2 separate regions of the Homo sapiens genome follow, and region 2 is linked to region 1. The links are contacts of gene promoters, found by promoter capture Hi-C in human tissues and cell types (Jung and others, 2019). All regions are on one chromosome and are shown on one strand. The core of a region is centred on a gene start or on the middle of the fragment in contact, and the rest is flanking DNA. Distances in the headings are between cores, read along the strand shown.

Region 1 (7,652 bases), core at 2,778-5,277:
TCCCTTGCATTTCTATCCAAAAAAAATGCAAACTTAAATATAATCATGAGGAAATGATAGCCGCAGGAGGCAGACAAATGCCTAGGCAGATCCCCAGTGAAACCCCATCTCCAAGCTGAAGACAGTTTAAAGCCTGAAAGCCAAGCTACAAGTCAAATCCATGGACCGGATTAAAAACCTGTCTTCCCATTTGGCACATTTTTCTTTGATTGATCCCCACCTTTCACCCATTTTATATACACCTACCCTTTCCTAATTGGTTTTCTACACTGTCGTGCCCACCTTTGAGTGGTGTCTTCACTTTAACTGTTTTTGCATACTCACAAACCAATCAGCACACACTTTCCATTCTGAATCCATAAATGCCCAGACCTAGCCACATTGGGTGAGAAACCACCTGACTGCAGGGGTGGGGGACCACCTCCACCTACCACATCCCCTCTCCGCTGAGAGCTGTTCCATCGCTCAATAAAATTCTTCTCCATCCTTCTCATCCTTCAAATTGTCAGCATATCCTCATTCTTCTTGGATGTGGGACAAGAGTTCAGGAACCACCGAATGCAGATACAAACTATAACACAGGCAGCAGGTCAAGTGAGGCCTGGGGGTTTTGCGGGGGGGGGGTGTCACTAGCTATGGACGGGTCCCTGGTTGGCAAAGTGACCGAGAAAAATCCTACATCAGATATATCAAACAAAACCAAAATGAAAGACATTCTACAAAACAAGTGGCCAGTACCTATCAAAATTTCAAAGTCAAGTAAGATCAATGACAACTAATTACAATGTGTGACTCTGGCTTGGCTCCTGTGATTGTTGGGAAATCGGAAGTAACTATACATAGCATCTATTGAAACGTGATAAAATTTTGAATACAGACTATGGATTTGGTAATATTGTATTAATACTGTAGTTCCTGATTTTGATGAGAGGATGTCCTTGTTTCTAGGAAATACACACTGATATATTTAATGGTAATGGAAGTTTACTCTCAACCTGTTCAAAATAAACTAATGTATATGGAGGGGAAAAAGATGAATTTAGGTAAAATGTGTACCAGAGTTCTTTGTATTATCCTTGCATCTTCTCTATAAATGATAAATATATTAAAATTGAAAGTTACCAAAAACTATATTTAGTCCTTGAAATATGGAAAACATGATCATTTTGAAAAGCATCTGAGCCGGGCTCAGTGGCTCACACCTGTAATCCCAGCATTTTGGGAGGCTGAGGCAGGCAGATTATTTGAGTTTAGGAGTTCAAGACAAGCCTGGGCAAAAATGTGAGACCCTGTCTCTACAAAAAATACAAAGATTAGCTGGGCATGGTGGCTTGCGCCTGTGGTCCCAGCTACTTGGGAAGCTGAGGTTCTAGGACTGTTAATTACCTTCCTCTCTTATGATTATACAGAACAGGAGGCATCCTTCCCATTTGATTTCAGACCAACAATCCTAGAACTGCTTTCTAAACAAGGTGAACAATTTACCTTGTGTGAGAGAAGGCAGTGTGGGTGTAGGTTTATTGTGGGGAGTGTGCTTGTTAATAATGAGGCTAAGAAAGGAGGCAGGCCAGAAATGCAAACAAACAAACAAAAAAAAATTCTGCTCATTTCAATTTTTGCCCCAGCAAGAACCTTGAGCTCAGTTCTCAGAGGTGAGAATTCTAACACAGAAAGCACCCAGAAAGGGCACTGAGGTCTGAGAAGCAAGGAAGTGACCCAGGTTGTTTGCCTCTGGTCGGAAAGGGAAACTACCCCTGCTTCCACTCTGACAGCAGACAAGTTAATCAACCTACTCAATTGCATTTTTGGCCCATTCCCCATTTCCAACATGAACAGTTCCTCCCCTCCAGCCCAATGCCACTCTAGGCAGTCACCAAGAGGTAAGATTTCTGAAATCAAAACTTGAATTAACCAACAAAGGAACATCAATTCTAGAACGGATTGTAACAGGGATTTTTGTCTTTTTTCTCTGCTGTATCCCCAAGATCTATATTATATATTCTGTGGTTTTGGCACATAGTAATTGCTCAGTAAAGCTGTGTTGAGTTACTTGATAAAAAATAAGTCAGTAGAAATAACTTAAATGCTCAACATTAATGTCATTGGTTAAGTAGCAATGCATAGAACTAAATATTATGCTATTAAAAAGTTTATTTGTAAAGTCAAGGATATGGAAAAATATTTGATACATACATATCTTTTTGAGATAGGTTCTCACTCTATCACCAAGGCTGGAGGGTAGTGGCAAGACCATAGCTCACTGCAGCCTCCAACTCCCAGGCTCAAGCAATCTTCCAGCCTCAGGCTCCCAAGCAGCTGGGACTACAGGTGTGCACCACCAAGCCCAGCTGATTTTTTTTTTTGAAAGAAGGGGTCTCACTATGTTGCCCAGGCTAGTCTTGAATTCCTGACCTCAAGTGATCCTTCTGCCCCGGAATCCCAAAGTGCTGGGATTACGGGCATGAGCCACAGTGTGGGACTGATACATTTTTGAAAAAAGGAAACAACATATATTCATGAAGGAAATACACACCCTCCTGGTGAGTTTATGTATGATTTTTGTTTTGTTGTTTTCTGTGTTATCTGATCACAAATTACTTTCATTTTCAGGAAGAAAAAAATTTAATTTTTTTTTTTATTGGGGCAACATCCAACCCAGATATGATTACTACCTAGCCTGAACTGAATGTATTACTAATAAACAAAGAAATGCAGAATGGCATACAGTCGGTAAAGCGTAGTGCTTGAGAGCATGGATTATGGAGACTATTTAAATACTGGCTCCATAACTTAATAGCTTGGGACCCACGGTGTTACTTAGCTTCTATCTGCTTTAATTTACTCATCTGTAAACTTGGGATAAGATACTTCCTCATAAGGTTGGTGTGAAGACCAAGTGAATTAACTATCGTTTAAAGCACTTACAAAAGTGCCGGGCACCACCGAGATATGCATCCGTTAGCTTTTATTATTATTAGACTCAAAACACTGTAGTAGTTCTAATGAGAGGGGTAAGAATCAAAAATCCAGGCACCTGCATAGAGCCAGAGAGGCACACATAGAAGCAACGTAAGAGTGGAAGCGGAATGAAAACATGCTAAAGCCAGGTACAAGCCACAAGCGAGGGTCCACAGGAAGAAATTGTTAATTCTGAAGAGAGTGAATGCACGAAGTTACAGGAAAAATAACATCTGAACAGAGTTTAAGAATGAGCAGGACTTCAACAAGTGGCTAGTAAGACATAAGGAACCTACAAAAGATCTTAGCAAAGGCGCAAAGATTACCATCGTATTGCTCGTTTCTTCCTACTTTGCAGAAGTAACCTCTGGCGAACAGAGGTGGTTGCAGAGCATGCTTATCAAGCAAAATACCACGAAGCAGTAAGGAACGACAGAGATAACAGTAACAATAATAATTCACCCCAAGGTACTCAACTGGAAAAAGGAAATACAGAGGAGAGGTGTCGTTAAGAAAGCCAGGACGCACATCACGGCCCCGTCGCTGCACTACTCTCGTCTAGGGGTCAACAGTGGAGTCGAGACTCGAAGCTTCCACGCGGCGGAACAGCGTCCCTCTCAGGCGGCGAACGGGCTAGGGAAGCGCCCGGAGGAGACCTAGCGTGAGAACTACAACTCCCGCGGAGCCCGAGGGCGAGCTGCCTGCGTAACTTCCGCTTCCGCCACCTGCCCCTCTCACCCTCTTCACTCGAACCCTACCCGGGAGCGGTCAGGCGCGTGACCCCGCGTGACCGGGGTGCGCGAGCCGAGAGGCCCTGGAAGCGGGACTCTGGGACCCCATTGAAAGAAAGGCAACCAGAAAAGGCGAAACGACAACCTCGATAGTGATTGGAGCTGATGGAACGAGGGCGGAGCTAAAGTCCCAGAATACTGGCCAATCAGAGTTTAAGATTATCAGGGAGCCCGGGAAGGGGAAAGGGGCGAAATGGTTCTATGGTCACATGCCGCGGGGTCTGGTGGGAGGAGCGGTTGCCCAGCGGCCTCTTGGCGCTTCCTGTTTCCGGTTCCCAGAGTGGGGCACAGCGAGGCGCTAGGGGGAACGCTGGCCTCTGAAACTAGCTCTGGGACCGGGGTCTGCGGCCGGCCCCTAGCTGGCCCCGTCTCCCATCCCCAGAAGGGTATTCACTGGGGATTCTGAGCTTTGGCTACTCCAGTTTCCCACGACACGTGAGTGTGAGGGGCGTGGAGGAGGAGGCGGGCTGGGTTGCGCTCACACTTAAGCGTCTGTGACAGGAGCCGGAATCGCATTCTCCCTTGACCATGGTTCTAGCCAAAGATCTGGCTGAGGAGCCCTAAGGGTAGAATGGAGGCGGAGGCATGAGAGCGGAGAGTCACGGAGTTCCGAAAGGTGTGAGGGAGAAAGGACTTCCAAGACCAGAGAGGGGATTTACGATATTTAGAAAGCAGGGAAAGGAAAATACCCCAAGTATGGAGTCCGTTGGAGGTGTTGGTGGATTTATTTGTAGGAGGAATTTTGGCCTGCATCACGGTGGGAGGTCAAGTGGCATCATTTGGAGAGGGTATGGCTACAAGCGCTTGGAAAGTCGGGACACTAGACAGAGCGAGAATTTCTGGCACCCTGGGAGAGCTTTGAGGGGGATGCGACTGTGGTGTGGATAAGAATGGCTGATGGACGGATTATCTTGTGTTCCTCGTTGTGGGGAGCTTCCGCTCTTGGGACATAGCCGCTACTTGTCTGAGGCTCCTTCTCTCTTGAGTTCTTTCAGCATTAGGCCTTTTAGCCAATTGAGGCTGCTTTTCTAAACATGTAGGCTGCTGGAGAAAAAGGGATAAGGACTGCTACATCAGAAAGGAGCCAGCGGGAAGACAGTAGAAATTCCACTGGTAAATGGCCATGGCTGTCTTAACAGATGGGGAAGTGAGTGCTACAGAGGCCCAGTGGTGTAAGCTGCTTCCCAGTTGCTGGCTTAGTCATTGGCCACCCTAATAAAGGATAATTTTTAGCATTGCCAAATAAAATAGATCTGTCGTTAGAGAATAAGAAAACTGAAAGATTTTTCAAGATCATAAAATCCTGCTCCTTATTTCCAAAGTATATAGACAAACTCTTGTACCTTGAGAATCTAATTGTAGCATATTAAAAGGGGGCTACTGGGCCCTTCCATTTCATTCTCTTCCTGATTGTTGCACCCCTATGTTTATAAGTTTTCCAGCAGTTATCTTTATGCCACGAATCGTCTAAATTGCCCCAGTAACTTCACACACATTTAATATCTGTGTAATGTACAGCAAGTAATTTAACAAGTAATTCTGTAAAGCATCAGTTTTCTCATCTGTGAAGTATGAAAAATTATACCTATTTTCTGGGTTGTGAAGATGAATGAACATAATCTAGGGAAAACATTTAGCGCATATGCCACTGAATTAAAGAGAAGCAGCTTAAATTTAAAGACAAGCCTTAAGCAGGAAAGAAGAATACAGTATAAATTTATTATCCTAACTTTTTGAATAATAAGCAAATGAAAGATAGTTCAACTCAGCTAATGGCTGAGGTGTTTAACCTTTCATCCCTTCCTAATTTTGTGAGATTCCTTGTTCTAATTTAGGAAAAGAAATCAACTGTCAGTTTTTAATTAGGTCCTGAGAGACTGGAAAGGAAAATGGCAGGCTAAGTCAGTCTAGAAGAAGGAGTCTCCTATTTCTTTTTAGTGAGTCAGCTGGTCAAGTTGTGTGTTGAGCAGTGGGTTAACTTAGGGAAGGTGGGAGTTGGAGGTCTGAGTTCTTTATTTCACCTCCTATTCAGTCAACTGTGTGAGGAATCACTTCCCCTTCACTTCTTAGTAGAAAAAAAAAAAAACCCACAGTTTTGGCTGTCTACTCTCATCTCCAAAAAATTGTTATGCACATAGTGGAAATATACATGTAGTTGTTCAACACAGACCATGAGCTCTGGAGCTAGACTCTCTGGCTCACTCCACTAGCTGTGTCTCAGTTTTCTTACTGGTAAAATAGCAACAATAATTGTATTTACTCATAAGGTTGTGAGGATTAATTAGTTAATTAATATATGTTAAGTGCTTTGAACAGCACCTGGCCCAAGGCAGTAGTCTGTTGTTTCCTGCTGTTGTGTGGTTTCAGTGCATTAAATGTGTTATGAGGGCCTTGGACCTCTTGGTTAGCTATGATTATTCTATGGAAACTACCATAATATTACAGTAGAGAATTGATGTTTGGGGTACAGGAAGTCAGGTAGACAATTTCCCGGGATTTTTTGCTTTAGTGGGGTGTGGGAAGTGGAAGGTCAGATGTTAGGTTGTTTAGGGGAATGGGGAAAGTGCATTCACGGCCAAGGTTGGAGCTTCCATTTTCCCATCTTCAAACTCATTAGTACCCATGAAAATTCTGCCTGTTTCAAGTTTTATATTTTAAAAATGAGGTGGAGTAAGTGGACCCGCATGAAAAAGAACTAGAGAACTTTAAAGAATATTCAAACCAAAGTCCAGACTTGCAGCGTTTTTTGTAAGTGAGAAAAGTTTAGAAGAGTTAAATCAGGAAATTGTCCGTGATACTCTTGGAATAAACAAGTAGCAATGGCCTGAGGGATCATTAACAGATACCAGAGTAAAGTGTTTTGCAAGGGTAAGTCAGTCTGTCCTGGGTATGAAGATGGATAAGAGAAAAGAAAATGTTAGGTTTTGGTGGGGTTTTTTTGCCAAAACCACAATGACCTTTGCACCAGTCTAGTAAGTTTGGGAAAGAGAGCTGTCTGTGTGTTTTCATTCCTAGAGCAGTACAAGCAGCAGGTGCATTGAATTTACTCAATTGTAAAGTGGCTTGGTGATCCCCAATTTGTTGTCATTGATTTGTAGTGTAAAAGACAACTGTACTTATGGGAAGTCTAGAAACCCTTGAGATTTGTGACCTGTAGAGGCCAAAGAGGTTTCAGAAGACTACATCAAGCCATCAAACAGTAAAGAGGCAAGGATGGCTCCACCCAAGCTGTCATCATTCTTTTTTAAGTTCTTTCATTTCCCTCTTCCCAACTTTGTAGTTTGTTCTGAAAGACTCACCTATACATTAGACTACAAGTTACATATAAATGAATTTTCTGCTGCAGATGCTCTTGTTACAGAGATATTAAAATGTACTATGTGTTGCATATGCCAGAGAATCTTGTACTTTCTGGATAATTAAAATACCATCGATTTATTACACATTCATACGCTTTATCTCTTTCCTCTCTCTCCTGATCCTACCTGCCCTCCCCAACACACACTCTCTCCCAAAGGATGTTCCCTTTCTACAGCTGCTGGAGGACTGGACTGCTACTACTACTCCTGGCTGTGGCAGTGAGAGAATCCTGGCAGACAGAAGAAAAAACTTGCGACTTGGTAGGAGAAAAGGGTAAAGAGTCAGAGAAAGAGTTGGCTCTAGTGAAGAGGCTGAAACCACTGTTTAATAAAAGGTAAATGAGAAGAACCTTAAAGAGCTTGAGAAAATATTTATGTTAAAGTCTTTTCTTCTTACTGATTTTATTTCATAATGTGCTCTCTTTTATGACATAGAGCAAATTCTCAGCCCAGTTTTTAGTTGCTGTGTGCAGTTTTCTCATCTTTCACAGAAGTGTAGCTATTTCCAAGACTGGATCCAAGAGACCAGCTTGTAGAAATTTAA
Region 2 (7,652 bases), core at 1,594-4,093, 850 kb after region 1:
AAAGGTAATCAAATAAGCAAATTAAAAGATAAAAGAGACACTTTTTTCATATTTTTAATTACCATTATTGCACCAATACAGCATACACTTTATATACATATATCTTAAACATTTTCCATTTTTCAGGAATTCAAATACATAATATATTATCATCTCAAGAATACAAAGAACACAACATGGAGGAAGATTGAGAAAATAGGTTCCCAGTATTTAGTCACTAGTGATTCCACAGACTTTCCTTTTAGTGTTTTCTATTGGAATTTTAACATGTCCTGCTATGGCTCTGCAAGAATAGAGCTGCCTGGAAAAGGAGGCAATGAAAAGAAAATGGACCCAAAGTCAGAAAAAGTGAAGAAGAGAATCCAGGAAAGTAATATATTTTGAAACTAAACATAAGGACTCCCTTCGGCCAGAGTGTACATACCCAATAGGTGCAAAAAGGAAGCAATGATATCTTCCCATTTCATCCTCAAAATTGCTCGTTTAGAAACAAAATAGAAAGTACCCATTCACCTAAGAAGCAGAACTTTTTTCACAGCATTGTAATAGGAATGGCAGGGCAGAGGGAAAGGAAAGTAGTGGGAGAACAACTTGCTTTTAAGATACCCTGGGTGACAGGTATCAAAGCCTTGGGCAAAACCTGTCACAGTAAAGCTGTGACTCTCCAACTTCCTTCACAAATGACAATATACATAATAGCAGCTTTCTATTAAAGAACTACATGAACTGAAAAGAAATGTTTATGGAAAGGGGCCAGATACCCAGGCAGCAAGGCAATGAGGATACTAAACAAGAGTTAAGTGCTTTCAACCTCTCTGCTCTACAGATCAGGTTAAAAACTCTAAACCCTTCAACTTTAGGTCAAAGAACAGGGCAAATACAAATTAATGCCATGCTTCAAATGCAGCAACCAGATGGAGCTGCAAGAAATTAAACACTCCTATAGACTATCACTTGGAAAGCACAGCCTCTTGAACCTCCTTCATTACAGATACACCCACTGATCAAAGATGTTAACACAATTCAAACTCAACAAACAGAAAAGAGTAGTGGAGGTGCCACCAACACAACCCTCTTATCATAGAAAGAGACATGTAAACACACAAGAGGGTGATGGAGCTGCACCCAGCACTGGATGTTCACTGAGCACAATAAGCCTGAAGGAGACTACACAGCAGAGACCCAGGAAATAGGTCTTTCTCCATATCTACCCCTATCAAAATTCTGAATTTGTAAACACTGAGGTCAGCCTGTCCATTTTTAGTCCTGGGTTAGTGGAGAAGGAAGTTGCAAGGTTTTTGACTCCCCTGAAATTGCTAAATAGGGCTTCACAAAGAGGCACACAAGGGTCATGAGATGATTTTGAAATAAGTTAAAGAAATTAAAAGATGAGACAAATTTTACAGATGTTAGAGGTCATTCCCCCTCAAACAGACGCTGGCCTTTTAAGCCCTGCATAGTCAGCCAAAACTATGATAAGATCCACTAGTCCCCTACCTTGGTACTACGCAGGAGATAACAGATACTTTCTTGGCTGTACAAGTAACAACACAGGGGAGTGACATAAACCAGCTTGAATGTGATGGAGAAGCTATGAAAAAGATTGTCCAGTCATTCTGGTTCTGGGGAGGAAATGGGTTCCTAACTTCCCTCACAGATTGGTGCCCTCAAGGTCATTTTTATTCCTCAAGTCTGTCCTTAATGTCCTGCCAATGCCATTCAGAACTGGACCCAGTTGGATGGCTGTGGTGCCTGGTTTGGAACAGAGCTGCAAGACAGGAGAACAGAGAAAGCCAGAGACATAATATTAGGATAACAACTCCATTCTTTACTTAATAGTTTCTAAGAAATCACTGCCTAGAATTTCCAAAACCACACTTCATGGCAATTCTACTTACAAAGGCCTGAAATATCCCACTCAAACCTCATCCTACAGCTTTTTTGTCCCCCCATTCCCAGCACTACTATATTTCCTTCACTAGAACTCTTCCAAAAGACTCTATGTGACCTGCATATCCATTGCTTCTCCAGATCAAAGATTTCAATTGACTGTACATATCTCCTACACCCTGATTGAGAGTATGCTAGTTTCACTATGCCCATTACCTGGAGGCAGTGCTGAAGTCTCCCCACAAGTCATTGCTTACAGAAACTGGAGTTGGTGCTGGTGTCGTGACAGGAGCAGGAGAATCCAAATCTAAAAGGATATCTAAACACAAGGTAAGAAAAGAAAAAAGAAAAACATAATCAAAATCTTGGAAGGGCCGGGCGCGGTGGCTCACGCCTGTAATCCCAGCACTTTGGGAGGCCGAGGCGGGTGGATCATGAGGTCAGGAGATCGAGACCATCCTGGCTAACAAGGTGAAACCCCGTCTCTACTAAAAATACAAAAAATTAGCCGGGCGCGGTGGCGGGCGCCTGTAGTCCCAGCTACTCGGGAGGCTGAGGCAGGAGAATGGCGTGAACCCGGGAAGCGGAGCTTGCAGTGAGCCGAGATTGCGCCACTGCAGTCCGCAGTCCGGCCTGGGCGACAGAGCGAGACTCCGTCTCAAAAAAAAAAAAAAAAAAAAAAAATCTTGGAGATGAGAATTTATGTTTGCACAAAAATCTGTATACAAATGCCACGGCAGCTTTATTCATAATGGTCAAAAACTGTAAACAACCTAGATGTCATTCCATGGGCAATAGTTACACACACTGGTATATCCATACCATGGAATACTATTCAGCAATAAAAAGAAACAGACTATTGACACACAACTTGAATGAATCTCAAGGGAATTATGCTGAGTGGGAAAAGCCTGTCCCAAAGGTTACATGCTGTATGATTCCTTTCATAGAACATTCCTGAAGTGACAAAATTATAAAGATGGAGAACAGACTGGTGATTGCCAAGCGTTAGGAATGGGGGAAGAAAGGATGAGAGGGAGATGGGTGTGGTTGTGTAAGGTTGACACAGGGGATCTTTGTAGTGATTAAACTGTTCTATAACCTGAAATGATGGTGGATCCATGAACCTACACATGACAAAACTGCAAAGAACTGGCCAGATGCAGTGGCTCACACCTGTAATCCCAGCATTTTAGGGGGCCAAGGCAGGAGGATCACTGAAGTCCAGAAGTTCAAGGCCAGCCTGGGCAACGTAGTGAGACTCTGTTGCTACAAAAATTAAAAAATTAGCTTGGTGTGGCAGTGTGCACCTGTAGTCCCAGATGTTTGGGAGGCTGACGCAGAAGGATCTCTTGAGCCCAGGAGTTTGAGGCTGCAGTGAGCTATGACTGCACCACTGTACTCTAGCCTGGGCAACAGTGTGAGACCCTATCTCAAAAAATAACAAAAAATCCTGCATAGAACTAAATATACAGATCCACACAAATATACACAGATGAGAACATGTAAAATGGTGTAAGCTGAGTAAGATGAGAAAGTGGTATCAACATCAATTTTTCATTTGTGATACTTGACAATAGTTCCACAAAATATTACCAATTGAGGGAAACTGGGAAAAGGGTAAACAGGATCTCTTCATATTATTTCTTACAACTGCATGTTAATCTACGATTATCTCAAAATAATAATTTAATTTAAAAAAAATCTTAGATACTATCCCCAGTGGCTTCTGGCAACACTTACCAAAAGAAGCAGGCTATAATATTTTCACCTCAAAAATTCCAGAAAGAGAAAGCTTACCCTTAGTAATCAATTCAACAAATTATCTGCACTGTCCAATACATTAAGTTAAAATTCTCAGATTCTAAGACACAGTTCTCTAATCTCAGAAAAATTCTTTTCTCAGTTCCAATGCTCTCATTTTTCAAATGAGAAGATATAACCATATTTATTCTTTCTCCCACCAAACAGAAAGAAAGAATGAAAGTGTATGGACAAACCTAGATATCTTCTTTTCTCCCAATTGCTCTTGTGAAGAAATGGGAAAGTTTAATAACATTTACTAAATGCCTACTATGTTCCAAGTGCTATGCTAGGTGCTGTCAATCATTTAACCCTCATGACCTTGGGGTGGTAATTATTTTATTTTATCTATTTATTTATTTATTTATTTTTGTTTGTTTCTTTGTTTTTTTATGAGACAAGGTCCCACTCTGTCACCCACACTGGAGTACAGTGGCACAATCATGGTTCACTGCAGCCTCCCAGACTCAAGCCATCCTCCCACCTCAGCCTCCCAAATAGCTGGGTCTACAGGCGTGCACCACCACGTCCAACTAATGTTTGTATTTTTTTTGTAGAGATGGGATTTCATCATGTTGCCCAGGCTGATCTCAAACTCCTAAGCTTAAGCAATCCACCCACCTCAGCCTCCCAAAGTGCTGGGATTACAGGCATGAGCCAAGGTCCCCGCTGGGGTGGTTTTACATCTCCAGTTTGTAGATAAGGCAATTGAAACTCAAAAAACTTAAGTAATGTTTACCAAGCACATTCAAATATAAAGTAGCAGAGCCATGACCAAAATCTTGGTCCATCTGACTCAAAAGCTTATAAGCATCTAACCAAGAAAAAAATGAAGGAAATTGTCATTTTAATAAGCAAATATTTTCTGCCAAAGAACCTATGAGATACTATGACTCTTAGTTCACTAGAAAAGCTTTGATTCCTTGCTAGAAGCTGACAGAATCACCTTGTCAGTACCATGAGCTATTTCATAGCAAAAACATTAACTCTCCTTGACAAACAGGTGTTGCTTAATTAAAACATAAGATTGGATTTCTCAAAATTAGAAGTACTAGATTTACCTGCATCACTGCCTCCATGGTTAGATTTCGGAATGGGTGGTGGGGTGACATGATTGCTGATGGCAACTGAGGAGGATGGTGGGGGAATAGTGACTTTGCCTCCTGGCGGGGGTGGGAGTAAGCTCAGACCCCCACCCCTTGCAGTCCTGGGCTTAGAAGCACCTCCTTTCTTGTTTGTAATGTTCTACAAAAGAAAAAAAGAAGAGCAAGAGAAAGATGTCATAGGCTTATGGAAGCACAGGAAAACAAAATTTTTAAAAACCATACTCACCCCGATACACAACTTGATGGTTTGTCCTTCCTTGAAGCCCAGATCCAACTTAGGACGAGCATCCATTTCTTGAGATTCCTTGGAAATCTCAGATTCCTGCTTTACCCACCTTTGGGAACACAGCAAGTTATCTTAGTTTGAGATTTCCTGAAAGCAGAGTCTGACATACAAATTTGGGTGTATTTACTTTTATGAAATGAGATTCCAGAAAACACAGTGAGAGATAAAAAAGAGTGAGAAACAGAAGGGAAAAAAGCCAAGAAAGAAAACAACTGGGGTTCAATTCCACTGGGGACTCTCTGAGAAATCTCACGGAATACGTATTAGAATTGCCCCTTCCAGAAGGATGGTATTTAGCCACCAATTCCCATTCCCCACAGTTGAGGGCTGCTCCTGAGGGGGTGTTAGTTTCTTAGTCTTTCCAAGTTAAAGCTTGCTCTTAGCTTTCTATAACTTCAGAGAGTCCTAAGGCAGAAAAGGAGAGATATGCTTGCTCTTGAGGTAGGAAGCTGACAGTGTGCACAGTGCTGTCAACCACAGCTGCACCAAAATCAAGTGGGCTAAAGAAATGTTGCAAAAGTCACAAAACATGTCAGCTACATAAGGTAACAAGAGTGGCACACGACTCCCCACATAAAGCCCTGCTGTTACCATAGGCCTCCCTCTACCACCTAAAAGACGGGGCAAATTCGACAGAGCATCATTTCAAACTACTGCACAAGGGATCTGAAATATATTGCAGGCTATAAGGAAAGGAAACAGAATAGATACAAAGATGACCTAAGGAAACAAAAGTGAATGGGGAGATTTATATTCACAATGAAATAGTTTAAGAAACAAAGAAACCAGGAGGAAAAGAGATACTGCCCATTCATGTGAGAAGCAGCATTCCTATAAGCATTCAGCCTCGTAACTAAGGACAAGCTTCACTCACTTGAAGTGATCCTGCAAGGAGACATTAAAGTCGAAGGCATCTCCCCGATCTGTGAAGCCAATGCCAATGAAAGCACTGCGCCCTGTGGAAAACGTAGGAAGACTCGACTAGGAAGTATCCTCTATGGCAGGAGCCCCCAACCCCCGGCACCAGTCTGTGGCCTGTTAGAAACCAGGCCATGCAGCAGGAGGTGAGTTGCACACGAGAGAGCAAAGCTTCATTGTATTTACAGCCGCTCCCCGTCACTTGCATGACCACCTGAGCTCCGCCTCCTGTCAGATCAGTGGCAGCATTAGATTCTCAGAGGGGTGTGAACCCTACTGTGAACTGCACATGTGAGGGATCTAGGTTATGAGCTCCCTATGAGAATCTGATGCCTGATGATCTGTCACTGTCTCCCATCACCCCCGTCTAGTTGCAGGAAAACAAGCCCAAGGCTCCCGCTGATTCTACATTATAGTGAGTTGTATAATTATTTCATTATACATTACAATGTAATAATAATAGAAATAAAGTGTACAATAAATGTGATGCACTTGAATCATCCTGAAACCATCCCCTAATGCCGGTCTGTGGAAAACTGTCTTCCACAAAACGGGTCCCTGGTGCCAAAAAGGTTGAGGACTGCTGCTCTATGGCAAATTTTGCCCAATGAAAATATAACAGTCACCCTAACTAGACAAAGTCTGAATGTGAAATATCTTCTCATAGACCAAGAGTCGATAAACTACATAGAGCCCATGGGCTTTATCCTGCCATAGCCTGGTTTTGTAGAAGAAGTTTCATGGAACATAGTGGTATCAATGTGTTTACATATTTTCTACAGTGATTTCACACTACAACAGCAAAACTGAGTAGTTGCAACAGAGGCCACCTGACCTGCAAAACCTAAAACATTTATTATTTGTCTGTTTGCCAACCTCTGTTATAGACCATGGAGAAAAGAGTAAGAATGACTGCCCCACACGTAAGATGATTCAAGATAGTCCCACCAAAAACTACCACGAACAATAAACGGGCAAAAAGTGTTCATTCTTTTTTTTTTTTTTGAGATGGAGTTTTGCTCTTGTTGCCCAGGCTGGAGTGCAATGGCGTGATCTCGGCAACCTCCACTTCCCCAATTCAAGTGATTCTCCTGTCTCAGCCACCCGAGTAGCCGGGATTACAGGCACCTGCCACCACGCCTGGCTAATTTTTTATTTTCAGTAGCGACAGGGTTTCATCATATTGGTCAGGCTGGCCTCAAACTCCTGACCTCAGGTGATCCACCCACCTCGGCCTCCTAAAGTGCCAAATGTGTTAATTCATTTGTTAGATATGTGTTTTTCATTTATTTAAGTCTACATATGAATTACCACATCTTGAACTCGTGCTTATCTATTACAAATAACATGTTAATACTTTTCCTTTAGCAACTAGAGCAACTTTAGAGAAAGGGAAGAAAAAATGAAGTAAACCAAAGAAAGATAAATGCAATCGGAAACACTTTTCATGGCTGTGCATTCACCTGTTTTCCTAACTTCGTTCCACTCAAAATCCCAGTTCTCTTACCAGTACCATCCTGGATCCGGATTACAAAGTAGCGGCTAGAATCTGTCACCGTCTCCACAGCAATACCAGGATATTGTTCTACTGGTGCCTGAGCAAAGAGCTCCCCTGACAGATAAGAGAAAGACTTTTTTGAGTAAAGCAA

Evidence for each region. The method cuts DNA at HindIII sites, captures the fragments that hold promoters and counts their contacts. A contact is called where the count stands out against the background at its distance.
Region 2: a fragment that was not itself captured here is called in contact with the fragment with the promoter of M6PR in region 1 in 1 of the 25 tissues and cell types used here (spleen).

What each region holds. Positions count from the first base shown.
Region 1 is chr12:8,946,020-8,953,671 of GRCh38, reverse strand. M6PR (mannose-6-phosphate receptor, cation dependent) reads left to right here and starts at 4,027. Exons shown (of 7, transcript NM_002355.4): 1 at 4,027-4,184; 2 at 7,267-7,443. The coding sequence starts at 7,268. It also overlaps a transcript of KLRG1 not described here. RefSeq lists enhancers at 3,325-3,454, 2,953-3,857, 3,858-4,763 and a silencer at 3,433-3,647. The HindIII fragment of the contact is 13,158 bases long and covers 448-7,652 here.
Region 2 is chr12:8,090,158-8,097,809 of GRCh38, reverse strand. It overlaps NECAP1 (NECAP endocytosis associated 1), which reads right to left. Exons shown (of 8, transcript NM_015509.4): 3 at 7,511-7,615; 4 at 5,960-6,041; 5 at 5,026-5,134; 6 at 4,755-4,938; 7 at 2,107-2,209; 8 at 1-1,768. The coding sequence ends at 1,720. Among named protein-coding and RNA genes, the nearest start is that of NECAP1, 12 kb to the right of the region's middle. The HindIII fragment of the contact is 6,438 bases long and covers 1-6,062 here.